Linked DNA regions of Homo sapiens: region 1 is linked to region 2. The links are contacts of gene promoters, found by promoter capture Hi-C in blood cells and fetal thymus (Javierre and others, 2016). All regions are on one chromosome and are shown on one strand. The core of a region is centred on a gene start or on the middle of the fragment in contact, and the rest is flanking DNA. Distances in the headings are between cores, read along the strand shown. Region 1 overlaps S100A10 (S100 calcium binding protein A10). Region 2 holds the start of SNX27 (sorting nexin 27).

What was found. Contacts are between HindIII fragments. The CHiCAGO score rates a contact against its expected background, and 5 or more counts as called.
Region 1: a fragment that was not itself captured here is called in contact with the fragment with the promoter of SNX27 in region 2 in 3 of 17 cell types (total CD4 T cells, naive CD4 T cells and total CD8 T cells); the score reaches 5.6 in total CD4 T cells.

The regions. Positions count from the first base shown.
Region 1 is chr1:151,986,467-151,990,860 of GRCh38, reverse strand. The region is part of intron 1 of S100A10 (S100 calcium binding protein A10); the gene reads left to right. Among named protein-coding and RNA genes, the nearest start is that of S100A10, 5.2 kb to the left of the region's middle. The HindIII fragment of the contact is 1,753 bases long and covers 872-2,624 here.
Region 2 is chr1:151,610,432-151,614,934 of GRCh38, reverse strand. It overlaps SNX27 (sorting nexin 27), which reads right to left and starts at 2,885. Exons shown (of 12, transcript NM_001330723.2): 1 at 2,423-2,885. The coding sequence starts at 2,733. It overlaps LOC124904420 (a long non-coding RNA gene), which reads left to right and starts at 1,567. Exons shown (of 2, transcript XR_007066622.1): 1 at 1,567-1,744; 2 at 2,536-4,418. RefSeq lists a silencer at 2,530-2,969 and an enhancer at 3,010-3,109. The HindIII fragment of the contact is 5,045 bases long and covers 1-4,390 here.

The DNA of each region.
Region 1 (4,394 bases), core at 499-2,998, 380 kb before region 2:
GGCTGGGGCACTGGCTATTGGGACCCTGCTCAAAAAACCTGCAACCTAGTGAGGAAAGAAACAGAAACACAAATAACTAGAATTCAGGCCAAATGCTTTAATAGTATTCCATTAGCTGGTGAACTCCTCAAAGGCAAGCACCATGGAGAGCTTTGTGTGTGTGTGCATGTGTGTATGTGTGTGTGAACACCCTCATGCCTAACACCATGTCTGGGACATTCAAAGTAGGTGCTCAGGGAGGGAGAACCAAAAATGGAAAATTGAATTCCTCCTAAGGTAACTAAATTTGTGGAGTCCAGAATTGTTTTCCATAGAGAAAACTATGCAGAGAAAGATGTCTCCGCCTCCCTTCTTAAGACCTGTTGCTCAGACAAACATGTAGAGGGCATGTATAGGCATCAGATTAGAATACTTCAATAAAAGGTGAGTGGACAGCAAGGCTGTTATTATCCTGTGGAGCTCAGCAGTGAGATAGCAGCACTAGAAAAGCAAAAAGTAGAAGATGGGATGAATGAAACACGAGAAAATAGCAAGTGTTAGAAGAGAAGGAGCACAGTCATGTCATTCTGACTAGACCTGTTTAGCAGGACACATATTTTTCCTTTTGCGTATGGAATGTGCACTCCTGTGTACTCTATCTACTGTTCCGTTCATAGTTGAACACTTTTGGGGCCCCTTTCCTGGCCCTTCCCAGCTCTCACATCGTCCTCCTGAGCTCTGAGCTACAAGGCTTTCAGCCTAGTCCTGGGTAATCACACCTGCACCTCAGCTACTGCCCAAGGGATTGTGTGGTTCATTTATGCACATAACAGTTATATAGTGCTCCATGAATAAAAGCAGAATAATTTGTAGTTCTTAATCAAGAGAAGCTTAAATCTCAGGCAGACAAGTAAACAATTAAATGAAATTGAATGTTTCAGGTGCAAGAGTACGTTATTGGGGATAGAGAGGACACTGCAGCCCCTCAGCCCCAGCCCCAAGGCCCTCCTGTCAAAATGTGTCTAACCAGGATGCAGGAAGCCCACATCTGTCCAGGAATAGAGCTTGCAGAGTGGCTACGTGAGGGTGGAAATGCCAGATTGAAGTCCCTGAAGAACTTCAGTTTTGGCAGCTAGCAGTGCTGCAGACAGCCCTGCCCAGGCAAGCCCCACCCAAGAACGGAGGGCCAGGCAGGGCTGACTCAGTTGGGCAACCATTGGCTGCACTCAGACAAGAGTTACATGATTCATCCTCTAGCCAAGAGAACAGAGTTTTAATCACAACATTTCCCCCTTTCCTTTGTCTTATTTTAAAGCCAGTGTGCAACTCCTTCCCCAAAACAGAGTTCCTTGCTGTGGCCCTGGTCAGTGCCCTTTGGGGTACTGGTTGCTGAGGAGACAAGGGCTTCTCCACTGATTTTCAATGCTATTTTCACCTCCTGGCTACTCCCTCCTCTGCATCCTTATTGCAGAAGGCCTACTGGACACACAGGGAGTCAGCTGGCTGCAATATTCACAATCCATCCACTGAATAAAACCGCTGGGGGAGGAGGGGAGGGGAAGACCAAGTGGGAGAAGGATGTAACTTCAGAGAAGGAAGCTCCGTCACTTCGTAATGGCTGTGGGCAAGAGAGGCATGCGACTGAGTGACTTCAGACCTAAGCACTCACACAGTGTGAGGTAGACTCACCTTGCTCTCCTGAAGAAGATACTCAAGGGTGGCCAGGATTTCCTCAGCTGACAACTTGTATTTCTTAGAACCTCCTAAAATTAGCCTTTTTAAAATTTAGAGGTCCTTACCCTGCTGCATTCCCTTTCTTAATTCTGCACTTTCCTTCTGTCCTGTCATCTGAAAAAAGTAAACTAGGTACCCCACCCAGTTCCAATTTCTGGGATCTTTGGGAATTGATCCTGAAGTGCTCTGCTGCTCTGAACTTGAGCACAGGTATTTTTAAACCTCTGTGGTGTCTGACTCCTTTCCTGAGTTATTTAAGAACTGGGGTGGGATCCCACGTCCTTCTCCCAGAGGTGACTCGCCCAGTTCAGTTCTCTTAAATTGCTGGACTTGGAGTACCAGTCCAGGCAAGGCAGACTCTCTGTAAGCCCACTGCCATCTGAAACCCATATGAGGGATGGGGGATGAGCCAGATCTGAGCTGTGTCAGAAGAGAAGGAAAAGGGTGTGGTTCCCCTGGAATTCATCTCACAGCAGACCTTGAAGCATTAATTTGCAGCTCTCTCCAAGATAACTAACTGCCTTTCAGATGACTCATGCCAGATTCTGATTTATAGCATTCTTTGGCCTGCTGGTTCCCATACTTTTCTGGAGATTAAGGGGTAGAATTTACAATTCTTAAGTGTTAATTGCTCAATCCTCATGTTTACCCACTCCACCTTCTCCTCTGTAAAAGATAGCATTTGAGAATCAGTGTTGAACAGGCATCTCTCAGAGATAGGAACCAGACCAAAGCATGTCTCAGGTTCCCATTAGAGCTCTTCAGCAGAGGAATTTGCCAGCCCTTCAATCTAAGCTCAAAGCCTATTCTTGTGATTATTTATTTTTATTTTTTAGTGCTATATTACAGTCTCCATTCACGTTCACCTGTTTCCTATCCAGTAGTGATTTTAGGTGATATTAGCCAAAGCTTATCTGTTCTCGCCAAATGATTCCTTCCAATTAAGCCAAAATTCACTGAGGTTCTATTAAGTACCACGTACTGGGTCTTGTGAGACATATACCCCTAGTTCATTATACCCAAATGTAATGATCTGACATGTTTCCTTTCCTTTCTTATAAACGCTTCATGATGAAAGCTCTTGCTTTCCCACTGTACCCCAGACTGTGAGAGCAGCTCATCTGTCTAATGTCACTAAAAACATAGGAGGCCCTCAAATGAGTTAGGTTATAGTATTACTTGTTGCTTCTCAAGTGAACTAGACAATGGACTTTGAGTAGTTTTCTGTTTGGGTAGAGCAACTGTATTTTACTGCCAGAGATGCAACTGTCTTTATTGCAGTAAATAACAAGTTCAGAGCTTTAGTAAAGAATACATATAGGCCGGGCATAGTGGCTCACGCCTGTAATCCCAGCACTTTGGGAGGCCGAGGTGGGCGGATCACGAGGTCAGGAGATCGAGACCACGGTGAAACCCCATCTCTACTAAAAATACAAAAAAATTAGTCGGGCGCGGTGGCGGGCACCTGTAGTCCCAGCTACTCGGGAGGCTGAGGCAGGAGAATGCCGTGAATCCAGGAAGCGGAGCTTGCAGCGAGCCGAGATGGCGCCACTGCACTCCAGCCTGGGCAACAGAGCAAGACTCCGTCTCAAAAAAAAAAAAAAAAAAAGAATACATATATACCCAGCAGATAAATTCATTTGTAAGCAGATTTCTAAACCCTAGAATCACACTGAACCAAGTTACCACTTTAAGCTTAGAAGGGTGAAGTTTTCGTATTTACCAGACTTGACTGTGTGGATTGTTAGTATCAGCCATATCTAAGAATCCCATTTACTAGTGCCAAGAGAAATTATGAACTATCTGTTCTTTCAGTAGGTGCTTTGTCAGTTAAAAAGAGGAACACTGGGCCGGGCGCAGTGGCCTGTAATCCCAGCACTTTGGGAGGCCGAGGTGGGCGGATCACCTGAAGTCAGGAGTTTGAGACCAGCCTGCTCAACATGGCAAAACTCCGCCTCTACTAAAAATACAAAAAATTAGCCGGACATGGTGGCGGACGCCTGTAATCCCAGCTACCTGGGAGGCGGAGGTTGCAGTGAGCCAAGATCACAACACTGCACTCCAGCCTGGGCAACAAGAGCAAAGCTCCGTCTCAAAAAAAAAAAAAAAAAAAAAAAAAAGAGGAACACTGATGTTGCTTTTCTAAATTATTAGTTTCTATTCTTCATTAGATTATTCATGCAAATTAGCTGGAGTTAGCTAAACCCCTTTATTTACAGCACCAGTATCTGAGGTGTCTATTTCTACCAACAAGGGACCCAAACTGGGGTGGACTGGTTCTTAGATTCATTCACTGAATTTTAAAGCTGGAGAAGATCAGATGGATGATCTAATCTCCATCTTTCCAATTATCCTAAAAAGGCTGGCAATACATATGGCTTAAAAGTTAATGTAAATCTACAAAGATGAACCTGGAGGACGTTACGCTTAGTGAAATAAGCCAAGCACAGAAAGACAATTACCAGATGATCTCACTCATGTGGAATCTTAAACACTGAATTTCATAGAACTAAAGAATAGAATGGGCTGGGGTGATTGCATTTGAGTGATGTTGAGGAGCTATTGGTCAAAAGATTGAAAATTTCAGTTAGGAGGAATAAGTTTAAGAGATCTACTGTACAACAACGTGACTATAGTTAATTACAATGTATTGTATTCTTGACAAATAGTTAAGAGTGGCT
Region 2 (4,503 bases), core at 1,636-4,135:
CAAGAAGCCACTAACTATGTATGTTGGGATGTGTGCGTGTATCTGCAAAGATAGATCATATTAACTATAGTCTCCTACAGAATTATTCTTTTTGGTTTAGTTCCTTTAGATCCTGTGAAGAGTAAATAATGTAGAACTTCATCATAAATTTATAATTATAAATGCTTTAGTTTTAAATTTAAAAATAAGAAGCTGAGTCCAAAATTAACTTCCAAAGGGAAAGGAAAGTGACAATTCTGAGACCTTCTATTGGAAGAAAACATCAGCCACAAATTTTGAGTTATCTAGAAAGAAAATAATTAGGTGCCCAAGTATAAGAAATCTGAAAGTCATTATTGTAATCCCAGCACTTTGGGAGGCCGAGGCGGGCGGATCACCTGAGGTCAGGAGTTTCAGACCAGCCTGGCCAACATGGTGAAACCCGTCTCTACTAAAAATACAAAATTAGCTGGTCATGATGACACATGCCTGTAATCCCAGCTACTCAGGAGGCTGAGGCAGGAGAATCGCTTGAACCCGGGAGGCGGAGGTTGCAGTGAGCCGAGATCGCGCCACTGCACTCCAGCCTGGGTGACGATCAAAACTCCATCTCAAGGAAAAAAAAAGAATATATTGTCAGACAATACTAGGAATACTAGGAAACAGTATGTAGGACATTAATGAAACAAGAAAGCATCTATTTACAGAAAGGACAGAGGAAAGGTATACTGTCTCCAAACACTGGCCTAGGTGAGCAACTATTTCTTTTTTTTTTTTTCAATCAACTCTCCCAGGTTAAAACCAACCATTTCTTGAGGTGGAAGAGGTGAGGAAACAGAATGAGTGGACACCATGGAGTTAAGAATGTCAAGGATAAGGGTAGATGGCACGAGATGAGTAAGAAGGAATGGATTTCTCTATAAGGCAGATTTTCAAAAAACTATCCCTTTTGCAAACCTACTGTTTTACAAGAGGCAACAGAAGGTTGCGGAAATTACAATTAAAATTTATAAAAAATGAGAACGATTTCAAGTGGGCAAATCGAAATATGGAGGGAGAGAGTAAAAGTGTAAAAAAGGAATGCACAACATAGATTCAGTAAGCAGAAACACAGCACTGAAGACTGCTGAGGAGAACGGAGACAACGCGAGCACACACCACCTGCAAGTCAACCGGCAATCACTATCCGAATTTCAATACGAAGTACAAAAAGGCAAATGTAACACCTAGATTAGGGTAATGGAGGCGGTGTGCACAGAGATTGCAAGACAAGGCAGCATCCCGCAAGAGCATGGAGGGATGTGGTGGGGGAGGCGTATGAAGGGGGAGGGACTGCAGCAGGGGAGAGAGGGTGGGCTGCAGCAGCAGAAGGCGCCTTAAAAAACAGAAGAAAGGAAAAGCAGCCTAGGGGAGGGAAAGACTAGGACAAAGTCAAGTGTGGGATCACAGGAGGATAGAGTAGAAGAGGCAGCAGAGACGGGCATGCCCTAAAAAAGCAAAGCGGTCAAAGACCCAAAAAGGGCTTGAAGTAGTTTTGAAGGAGGAGGAGTTACAAGGGGTCTACCATAAACCTGACTAGGAGGAGGCATGAGTATAGAGCAGGAGTGAAGGCAGGAGGCCAGGGAAGGGATGCTCTCAGAGGGGTGTGCTGATGGAGACGCTAGATTCCAAATTAGGGTGTGATACGGGGCCAACCGAGAAGAGAAACTACGGTGTCAAATCCCACGCCCCCCACCCCAAAGGCATGCAAGGGTCAGAAAGCAAGGTAAACTCTTGGAGTAGAAATACAAAAAGGAGGGGAGGAAAGGGGCACACGGTGGGATGGAAAAATTTAGGGGCAGCGTAACCATGAGGAGAGGGTAACTAAGGAAAGAAAAAGGAGACGAGCGGGGAGGGATGGTGTTTCCGGAGGAAAAGTAGGAGCAGACCAGAGGTCCTGCCTACTTGGTCTGGAGGGCAGAAGGGGCAGTCCACGGGGGCGGAGGGGAGTGGTGGAGAACGAAACTGCGATGCTGAAGATGAGAACTTGGGGGGGACACGGTACTGGCTGGATCAGAAAACGAAACGCCGTCAGTAAGGAGCAGATGAGGTTCCTTCTGAGCAAGACGAGGGGGAGTGAGGAGCAGAATGCAGCACGCCAAACGGGAAGGCAAAGGGGCGGAGAAGAGCCCAGAGTAATCGGGGCACAGGGAGGAGCACTGGGGGCGCAAGGGCATCAGCTGGAGACGACGGGGTGGGAGACCGGCGTCGCAGAAGCCCCGGGGCGGGTGGTGGGAGGGCAGCCCACAAGGAGGGGCCCGGCTGCGGAGGCCTGAGGGGCGGGGGTCCGGAGGCCGGCTCGGAGCTCGGGGGAGGTGCGGCCTGGGGGTGACAAGGGTAGCGAGGAGTGCAGGGGCAGGAGGGGCGCGGGGAGGATGGGGCGGCGGGTAGCCCCGATACTCACACCTCCAGGATGCGGTCCCCCTTGCGCACCCCGGCCCGATCGGCCGCCCCCCCGGGCAGCACGGCGCTCACATGCTGCAGCGGCGCGTACAGCTCCCCGTTGATGCTCCGCAGTTGCCCGCCCTCGCTCACTTGGCCCCGCACGTTGAAGCCGTAGCCGGACTCGGACTTGACGATGCGCACGACCCGCGGGCCGCCGCCTCCCCCGCCGCCGTTCCCGGCGCAGTGGAGCCCAGACCCCCCGCCGCCGCCGCCACCTCCGTTCCTGTGAGGGGCTGAGGGATGAATCCCTTCCCCGTCCTCGTCCGCCATCTTGCGAGCAGGCGAGCCGTACCCCCGCCCCCTACGCCTCCAAGGCCTCCCGGCGCGTGCTCGCCCTGCCTGGCAGCCGGACGACCCCCGACGCGCGCGCCCGATCCGCCGGCCGCGGGACCGACTCGGCCACCGAGCTGCTGGCGCGGGGTGAAGAGGAGGCAGGGGGCGGGCGAAAAGCGGACAATCGGGCACCGTGGGGCCTCCTGGGAGATGTAGTTTATGGGTGGCGGGGGCGGGGAGCGGTCTGGGCCTGGGCCTGAGCCGAGGTTATAAGACGCAGTTCGGAAGCAAGGCCTGCCGGGAGTTGTAGTTTATCTTTCATGCTGGGTTAGGAGTTTGATCTGCTGGGTGGGGAGAGTATAACCCAGCACCCAGCGTGGTAAAATGATTCAGTTCTTGATGCGGACCAAGTTTTTCGCCCCCCCCCCTTTCATTTCATAACCTCTAAAAAACAATAATGTTAGAATAACTTAACGTTTGTGATTCAACACAGTCTTAAATTATATCAACTCATTTTTTGGCACAGTAACTTATATGTTGACCAGGGCCCAACAACCTGTGAGGCAACCGGATCACGATTAGCTTCCCTATTTTACGTTATTAGGAAACAACCTTAGAGTGCTCAAAGTCATCCAGCTACTAAGTATCAGGAACTAAGGCCCAGTTATTGTGCAACTTTCTTGTCCTGTATTGCAACTACAGTCATGTGCCACATAAGGACATTTTGGTCTACAATGGACTGCAAACACGAGGGAGGCCCCCTAAGATGATAATGGAGCTGAAAAATGTCTATCACCTAGTGGCACAGTAGCCACCATAAGGTCATAGCACAAGCATTACTCACATGTTTGGAGTGATGCTGGTGTTAACAAACCTGCACTGCCAGTCATGTGAAAGTATAGCACATATGATTATGTACAGTACATAATACTTGATAATGGTAAGAACTATGTTACTAGTTTATGAATTCACTGTAGTTTTTATCACTATTTTAGAGTGTACTCCTTCTACTTTTTTTTTTAAGTTAACTGTAAAGCAGCCTCAGGCAGGTCCTTCAGAAGGTATTCTAGGTATTCTAAGTATTGTGATTTTTTTCCACGTATTCCAAGTATTGTGTTTTTTTGTTTTGTTTTGTTTTTTTGTTTTTTTTTTTTTTAAGATGGAGTTTCGCTCTTATCGCCCAGGCTGGAATGCAATGGCACGATATCGGCTCACCGCAACCTCTGCCTCCCAGGTTCAAGTGATTCTCCTGCCTCAGCCTCCCAAATCCCTTGCGATTAAACGCATGCGCCACCATGCCTGGCTAATTTTTTGGTATTTTTAGTAGAGACAGGGTTTCACCATGTTGGCCAAGCTGGTCTCGAACTCCTGACCTCAGGTGATCCAACCACCTCAGCCTCCCAAAGTGCTGGGATTACAGGTGTGAGCCACTGTGCCTGGCCCCAGTTATTGTTACCATCAGATGACAGCTCTGTGCATGTTATTACCCATGAAGACCTTCCAGTGAGACAAGAGATGGAGGTGGAAGACAGTGAAATTGATGATCCAGATCTGGTGTAGGCATAGGCTATGTTTGTGTTTAAGTCTTAGTTTTTAACCAAAAAAAAAAGTTTAAAACATAAAATTAAAAATTGCCTTAAATAGAAAAAAAGCTTATGGAATAAAGATATAAAGAAAGAAAATATTTTGTACATCTGTACAATGTGTTTGTGTTTTAAGCTAACTGTTATTACAAAAGAGTCCCCCCAAATTTTTAAAGGCTGGGTG